Linked DNA regions of Homo sapiens: all the other regions are linked to region 1. The links are contacts of gene promoters, found by promoter capture Hi-C in human tissues and cell types (Jung and others, 2019). All regions are on one chromosome and are shown on one strand. Each heading gives the region's core, a stretch centred on a gene start or on the middle of the fragment in contact. The rest is flanking DNA. Distances are from core to core; before and after follow the strand shown.

Region 1 (2,700 bases), core at 135-2,634:
CCAGTATTTCTGCCACCCATCCTCTAACCCATTAAAAATAAGAAAAGTGAATAAAATTCTCCCCTTCAAAATAAGAGCTCTTAATATTTCAGTTCAATTAATTCCTGGCATTTTACCTATTCATGTTATTTTATTTTATTTTTTTAGTTTTAGTAGATAAGGGGGTCTCCCTGTGTTGCCCAGGCTGGTTTGGAACTCCTGGCCTTTAGTGATGATCCTCCCCTCTCAGCTTCCCAAAGTGTTGGGATTACAGGCATGAGCCATTTTGCCTGGCCAGGCAGGAAAATGGCGTGAACCCAGGAGGTGGAGCTTGTAGTGAGCCGAGATTGCGCTCCAGCCTGGGCAACAGACTGAGACACCCCTTCTCAAAAAAACAAAACGAAACAAAAAATCAGGGTAGCACTTCCATCCCCAGGCCCAGGCCACTCTTCTAAGTGCTGAGAGGATCTGAGCTCACGTGAGGCTGCCCTAGGCCTGCAGGGGCCATTCTCATCTTACAGAGGAGGGGCCAGAGGTGCAGAGAGGTGGGGTAACCTGCCCAGGCCATGGAGCTGGGCCACTTTCCTGGCCAGCCCTGCCAGCCTCTGCATCACGGGCCCTGCAGGAGGGAGCCTTTGGGAACCAGGCTCTCTTCTTCCTAAATTTTAAAATAAAAGCATTTCTCCTGATCATTGAGTTTTTCCGTATATTCCGTGTTACTGGTGTCATTATAAACGGTGAATGTGAATACTGATCATGGAGGAGGAGTGTGTGTTCAGGGTCATCTGCATCCTCCTCTGCCCACAGTGGAGACATCCTTGGAAGAGATGATTTGCCTTGTGCTTCAGAGATCATTGCCTCCCCACACCCTCTCCTAAGACTTTGTATTGAAACAAAGTAATCTTACACAAAGTTCATCAAAGCACTGTGAACAAAATTCCAGATTGCTCCCATCATCCTTTAGTTCAGTTCTCCCAGTTCCAGAGCCCAGGAATGGCAGGAAGCACACAGAGAGAGCACCCTCCCAAGGTGGGGAGCACTAGCCCAGCCATGACTCTTAGGGGAGAGTCTCAGCAGGGGTCTTGGGCTGGTGCAGGCCGGGGAGGCGGCCCGTTCAGAAGCAGCAGTGGGGTGACCACACAGCAGGGCAAAGAGCCTGGGTGGGAGTGGGGATGGCAGGGGAGCCAGAGGAGAAGGAGCCCAGGGCTGGGGCTGGGGCAGCGGGAGGCCAGGGCTGAGGCACAGAAGGGCTGCCAGGCAGGAAGTGGCAGCAGAGGGCCCAGTGGACAGAGTGGGCGGCAGTACCTGATCTGTGCTTCTGGCCACAGCTTCCTTAGCAGACTTGCCCCTGCTTGTCTGAGGCACTAAGTTTCACTTTTGGCAGCTCTCCCAAAAGTCACAAAAGGTCAGCTCTCCCAAAAGTCACAAAAAGTCACTGCTTGATGAGGGTGGCTCCACCCTCTTCCTTTTGTGGGACTGGAGTGGGAGGGCCCTGGGGTGCTTCAGATCCCTCAGGCTCCTTTCTTTCTCTATTTCCTCGGGCTTGGCAGGGGAAGTCTGATGGAGGTGGCTCACCTCCCATCCTCCCACCCCCAATTCCCTCTCCAGGTACAGCCAGACTCAACTCCCTCCCCAGGTATAGTTTACAAAAGAACAAAGGCCAGATGCGGTGGCTCACACCTGTAATCCGAACACTTTGGGAGGCTGAGGTGGGCAAATTACAAGGTAAGGAGATGAAGACCATCCTGGCCAACATGGTGAAACCCCGTCTCTGCTAAAATACAAAAAATTAGCCAGGTTTGGTGGCCTGCGCCTGTAGTTCCAGCTGCTTGGGAGGCTGAGGCAGGGAAATTGCTTGAACCTTGGAGGCAGAGGTTGCAGTGAGCCGACGTCGCACCACTGCACTCCACCCTGGCAACAGAACGAGACCCTGTCTCAAAAAATAAATAAATAAATAAAAATAAAAAAGAAAGAAAAAAGAAAGGAATTGATGGCTGGTCACGGTGCCTGTTATCCCAGCACTTTGGGAGGCTGAGGCAGGTGGATTGCCTGAAGTCAGGAGTTCAAAATCAACCTGGCCAACCGCACTCCAGCCTGGGCAATAAGAACAAAACTCCGTCTCAAAAACTAAACTAAACTAAAATAAATGAAAGGAATAGAAGCCACAGAAAGGAGCAGGGATCCAGACCAGGGCTGACACCATAGACCAGATGCCACTCCCCTGGTGGACAGGGCAGGCTGCAGCCCCCTCCCCACCACCCCACTGACCTTTGGCATTCAGCCTCCTGGCAGGACCCTGAGCCTGATGTGAAATGAGCACTGGGGTCAGGCTCAGGACTGCATCTCCAGCGGATCCAGTGCCCATTATCTAGCCCAGTCCCCAGATAGCACTGGGAGGGGAGGGCAGTGATCCTGACAGTCAGAGGAGGTCCCAAGCACAGAGAGGCTAAGATACTGTCCCCACGTCACACAGCAAATCAACAGCAGAGCTGGAGTGCTGGCCAGGACTTCCTGTGTCCCTTCTCCCCCACAGCTAGCTACTTTGAGGTTCTTCATTGCTCCATGGAAAGGAGCAGGAGAGGAGACACGAGGGAGGGGACTTACTGCTCCTAAAGGGCCTCCCAGGTCAGAGATGAAGGACCTGGACTTCACATTTGCATTCTGGAACCCATGTCCTCGTCTTCATGCATATCAACCAACACCCTTCAGATCATAAACACC
Region 2 (2,700 bases), core at 156-2,655, 260 kb before region 1:
CGCCCCTGGGCTGTCCCTGGACATGAGGAAGTGCCCAAAACACAGCAGAAATCTATCACCTCCCAGCGGTCTCCTTGCAGCTGACCCTGTCCTAGACCTGAGAGAGAAGAAGCGGCGGAGCGGCCGGCCACAGGAGGTGAAGAGGTGAGAAAGACTCCAGGGTGGTCAGCAATAAATAACAAACAAGGGCCGTGGGCCCACCTTCCTGTCTAGGTGACAGGGCTGTGCCCGGTACTGGGAGAGGACAGGCTGGACGTGACCACGCATTTCCAGCCACAGAGCCCTCTCCAAACCAAGCTTCCACAGGAGCTTCCGAAATACCCTTGACCCTCTCTCCAGCTTCCCACTGCCCTCAGAGGAAGTCCAGCTTGTGAGTCTGTCATCCAAGCCTCTCCTGGGCCACCCCTTGGGAATTCCTTCTTGTAGTGACCCGAGCCTCTGGGACAGTGCTTCCCACTCAATCCTGTTCTCGTTATTGGAGCGAGAGTGCCTTGGGGTGGCACTGAGCACTCAGCTGGCACTGAGCAGGGGACTTGTGGAATGAACAAATGAACATCAGAACTGGCCAGAGGTTCTGTCTCTACCCTGGACCCTCTTCCCCAACAACCGCTGGTCCCAGAATTTTCCTGTGGCCCCATGGCTGGCACATGGCAAGTTGGTTGGGGGAGGCAAGGGGTCTTATCTTGAAACTGCTGTGTTTACAAAAAACGTTCAGCTTTTTTTTTTTTTTATTTGAGACAGAGTTTTGCTTTTGTTGCCCAGGCTGGAGTGCAGTGGTGTGATCTCAGCTAACTGCAACCTCCGCCTCCCGGGTTCAAGCGATTCTCCTGCCTCAGCCTCCTGAGTAGCTGGGATAACAGGCGACCGCCACCACGCTCAGCTAATTTTTGTATTTTAGTAGAGATGGGGTTTCACCATGTTGGCCAGGATGGTCTCGAACTCCTGACCTCAAGTGATCCACCCGCCTTGGCCTCCCAAAGTGCTGGGATTATAGGCGTGAGCCACCTCACCTGGCCAAGTTCAGCTTTTTTATTCAGTGTTCACTTGGGATGATGGGGGGTGGAGTGGAGGGGGTGAATAAAACCAGGGGTATGAAGCTGCCCCCCTCAGGCCACCCCTTGGTGCCATGGATATCCAGGCAGAGAACCCACAGGGAGTACACAGAATGTGGAGCCCAGCAGTCCGGGTTCAAACCAAGTCTCTGACAAGCCCAGGCCTTGAGCTAGCACAAGTCACTTCTCCAGGCTGAGCCTTAATTCTGTCATTTGTAAAACGGGGGGAAGATACCCACCCCACTTACAGAACCATGTGGTATTATGGCCAAAGCCCTTAAAAAATGAACCCTGAAAATGGCAACATTTCAAACATTTTATCATTTTCATTTTGTCAAAGTAGAGAATTAAAGAAACATTGACTGGGCACGGTGGCTCACACCTGTAATCCCAGCACTTTGGGAGGCTGAGGCGGGTGGATCACTAGGTCAGGAGTTTGAGACCAGCCTGGCCAAGATGGTGAAACCCCGTCTCTACTAAAAATTTAAAAAGTAGCTGGGCATGGTGGTGGGTGCCTGTAATCCCAGCTATTTGGGAGGCTGAGGCAGGAGAATCACTTGAAACCAGGAGGCAGAGGTTGCAGTGAGCCAAGATCGCGCCACTGCACTCTAGCCTGGAGACAGAGCGAGACTCCATCTCAAAAACAAAAAACAAACAAACAAAAAACTCATCTGCCAGCACTGATATTCATTCCCTATAGTCCATCTTAGCCCCCTGCAAAAAAGAATATAAACTCCAAATAAAAGGTGGTCCTTTCTATTAAATCAGTTTAGCTTCTTGCTGTAACTCCTTTTTTTCCCATCTGGCTTTAGAACAAAGAAATGAGTCACTGACAGGCGGCAGTCACCGCGCAACAGATCAGGCACTTCTGACCCAGCCCAGCCCAGTTCGGGTGGGAAGACTGAGGCACAGAGGGTGGGGAGGGGACACTTACTGAAGGTCACAGCTGTGGCCTGGGGGTGCCAGGAGTGGCAGCTGATCTGCCACTGGGGCGATGACACCAAGAGGTGAGAAAGCCTTAGTCAAGAGACAAGCCATGCCGGATGCAGTGGCCCACGCCTCGCCTCATCGTCCCAGCTGCTCACAAGGCTGAGGTGGGAGGATCACTTGAGTCCAGGAGTCTGAGACCAGCCTGGGCAACACAGCAAGATCCTGTCTCTAAAAAAATAAAAAAGAGACAAGCCAGGTCTTGGAGGCCCTGCTTCTGTGCAGGCTGACCCAGGGGCTCAGAGGGCTTGGGTTCCAGGGTGGGTCCAGGTTGGTGAGGCCCTGAAGCTTACATGATTTGGGGGCCCTCTTTTGGAAAAGCAACAGAAAAAAAAATCTTTCTTTTACAAATTTTACAAAAATCCCAGGTCCAGGCCGGGTGCGGTGGCTCACGCCTGTAATCCCAGCACGTTGGGAGGCCAAGGCAGGTGGATCACCTGAGGTCAGGAGTTCGAGACCAGCCTGGCTAACATGGTGAAACCCCATCTCTACTAAAAATACAAAAATTAGCTGGGCGTGGTGGTGTGTGCCTGTAGTCCCAGCTACTTGGGAGGCCGAGGCAGTAGAGTTGCTTGAACCTGGGAGGCGGAGGTTGCAATGAGCCGAGATGGCACCATTGTACTCCAGCCTGGGCAACAGAGCAAGACTCCATCTCAAAAAA
Region 3 (2,700 bases), core at 17-2,516, 410 kb before region 1:
GGTCTCTACCCCTTCACAGGGGTTATAATGCAGGTCTCTACCCCTTCACAGGGGTTATAAAGCAGGTCTCTACCCCTTCACAGGGGTTATAATGCAGGTCTCTACCCCTTCACAGGGGTTATAATGCAGGTCTCTCTACCCCTTCACAGAGGTTATAAAGCAGGTCTCTCTACCCCATCACAGGGGTTATAATGCAGGTCATTTCTTCGTCCTTTGGCCACTACTTTGTGGAAGGTTAGATCTGAGCGGGACCTTGGAGCTCATCTAATGCCATCACATCACCTCACACAGAGGTTCTCAACATAGGGAGGTGATGTGTCAGGTCTCAGAGAAAAGAAATGGTACAGGCGCAGTGGCTCATGCCTATAATCCTAGCTACCCGGGAGGCTGAGGTGGGAAGATCGCTTGTGGCCAGAAGTTCAAGACCAACCTGAGCAACATGGCAAGACCCCCATCTCCAAAAGTAAAAGATAAAAATAAATTGAGCATGGTGGCACATGCCTGTAGTCCTATCTACTTAGGAGGCTGAGGCAGGAGGAATGCTTGAGCCCAGGAGTTTGAGGCTACAGTGAGCTATGATCACGCCACTGCACTCTAGCCTCAGTGACAGAGTGAGACCCCATCTCTTAAAAATAAAAATAAAAAAACAAAATGGGCCGGGCACGGTGACTCACGCCTGTAATCCCAGCACTTTGGGAGGCCGAGGCAGGCGGATCACCTGAGATCAGGAGTTCAAGACAAGCCTGGCCAACATGGAGAAACCCCGTCACTACTAAAAATATAAAATTAGCCAGATGTGACAGCGCATGCCTGTAATCCCAGCTTCTCAGGAGGCTGAGACAGGAGAATCCCTTGAACCCGGAAGGCGGAGGTTGCAGTGAGCCGAGATCACACGATTGCACTCTAGCCTGGGTAACAAGAGCTAAACTCCGTCTCAAAAACGAAAACAAAACGACACAGTCATCTCCAGAACTCAGGACTCCCCACTCCTTGTATGACGCTTTTTCTACTGTACCATGCTCACCCTTACCCAAATCAAATCGGCCCTTATTCTATCTACTTTCTGCAAACAAAACACAAAACAACATGTACCAAACATCCTGCACACGGAACTGAAACTACACGTCCATATGTGAGAAAGGTCCCTCCATGGACCCTCCTACTTGACAAATGCTTTGTTTCTTGAGAGAAGTGCGCAGCGGGGACTATAAAAGCTTAGGTGAGACTGGTATACCGGGAGATAAAAAACACAAAGGACACTGCAGACTCGACTGCTAACTGGAAAACAAAACACCCATCTGCTCGATTACACCTGGAAGAGGAACTAAAAATGTGTTCACCTGAAAGAAGTACTTGGGCACCACAGCGAAGAGGCTGGCCTCCAGTGCAGTGCTCAGGCCAGTGCTGCTCCCGACTACAGTGGAGTCTTCCTGACTGCAGCAGCAGCAGTCCCCAGATAAGCCCATTCCTGTGGAGTTAGAACCCTGGGCCTGAGCCGGATAAAGGATGACAGTGTGATTCAGATCGGAATACCACTCAGCATGCTGCCACTCTCCTCTATAATATCCCGTGTCCTTCACACCAGGAATGACATAAGGGAAAACAAAGTCGGATACCATTTAGCGTCCCAGAATGGGAGGACATCAAGAGACAGGATCAGCCGGGCGCGGTGGCTCACACCTGTAATCCCAGCACTTTGGGAGGCCAAGGTGGGTGGATCACGAGGTCGGAAGTTCAAGACCAGCCTGGCCAACATAGTGAAACCCCATCTCTACTAAAAATACAAAAAATTAGCCAGGCATGATGGTGCATGCCTGTAATCCCAGCTACTCGGGAGGCCAAGGCAGGAGAATCACCATTGCACTCCAGCCTGGGTGACAGAGCAAGACTCCGTCTTGAAGAAAAAAAAAAAAGGATCACTGAGGATTATCTTCCATGTAAAATAACATTCCTTCTAATACCGTGTTACAAGTGGATATTTCTAGCTTCCACATCTTACGCTCCTGCCTCTACCTCCCTGAAAAACAAAGAAATATTTCTGACTCTATTATTCCAGTAATTGAGTTAACTAAGAGTCACTGTCAAGCCCAAAAATATTTTTTTCCCTAACTAGAGTTCACACCTTGGGGGTACTTTCCTTTTCTCTACCATTTACAGTCAATAGAGGCTTCAGGTTTAGGGACATGAAAGACTATTTCGCCAAACCGAGTACATTCCCACCTCAAATGCACAGAGCAAAGCCAGGGAGAAGAGATAACGTTTGTATTTACAGGTGGAATCAGGGAAGAACAGCAGACACCCTCTCTCCAGTGGCCACTGAGATAGAGACGGGACAAACCAAACTTAGCAGAGGCAAGATAACCCAATCAGGAGAAAAGCAGAACACTATACATTTCCCCACACATAACAATGTCTCTTGTTTTAACTCTTTACTGAAATATTTACAATAGGGAGAGCCACTGGACACATGTGCCCTCTAAATGATCCTTGAGTGTGATGCAGCAGGGCCAGAAGGGCACCTCCTCACTCAGGGCAGAAGCAGCCTCCCTGGACCATTTTAGTCCTTGGTGCCCTTCTGATGACTGGTGAGAGCAAGGTGGTGCTACAGATGACAGAACAGAGCGTGGGTTTTAGAGTCAGAAATCCTGAGATACAGAACTTGCCTTGAGCCCTGACTTATTAGCTGGGTGACCTCAAATG

Evidence for each region. Contacts are between HindIII fragments. The study calls those that stand out against the background at their distance.
Region 2: a contact is called between a fragment that was not itself captured here and the fragment with the promoter of APOBEC3H in region 1, in 5 of the 25 tissues and cell types used here (dorsolateral prefrontal cortex, heart left ventricle, heart right ventricle and 2 more).
Region 3: a fragment that was not itself captured here is called in contact with the fragment with the promoter of APOBEC3H in region 1 in 1 of the 25 tissues and cell types used here (IMR-90 fibroblasts).

What each region holds. Positions count from the first base shown.
Region 1 is chr22:39,095,928-39,098,627 of GRCh38, reverse strand. APOBEC3H (apolipoprotein B mRNA editing enzyme catalytic subunit 3H) reads right to left here and starts at 1,384. Exons shown (of 5, transcript NM_181773.5): 1 at 1,285-1,384. RefSeq lists enhancers at 1-852, 1,183-1,522, 853-1,740, 1,063-2,262. The HindIII fragment of the contact is 18,686 bases long and covers 1-2,700 here.
Region 2 is chr22:39,352,874-39,355,573 of GRCh38, reverse strand. All of the region lies in intron 1 of SYNGR1 (synaptogyrin 1), which reads right to left. Among named protein-coding and RNA genes, the nearest start is that of SYNGR1, 4.2 kb to the right of the region's middle. The HindIII fragment of the contact is 5,350 bases long and covers 1-2,700 here.
Region 3 is chr22:39,508,212-39,510,911 of GRCh38, reverse strand. All of the region lies in intron 2 of MIEF1 (mitochondrial elongation factor 1), which reads right to left. Among named protein-coding and RNA genes, the nearest start is that of MIURF, 5.3 kb to the right of the region's middle. RefSeq lists an enhancer at 1-336. The HindIII fragment of the contact is 6,788 bases long and covers 1-2,700 here.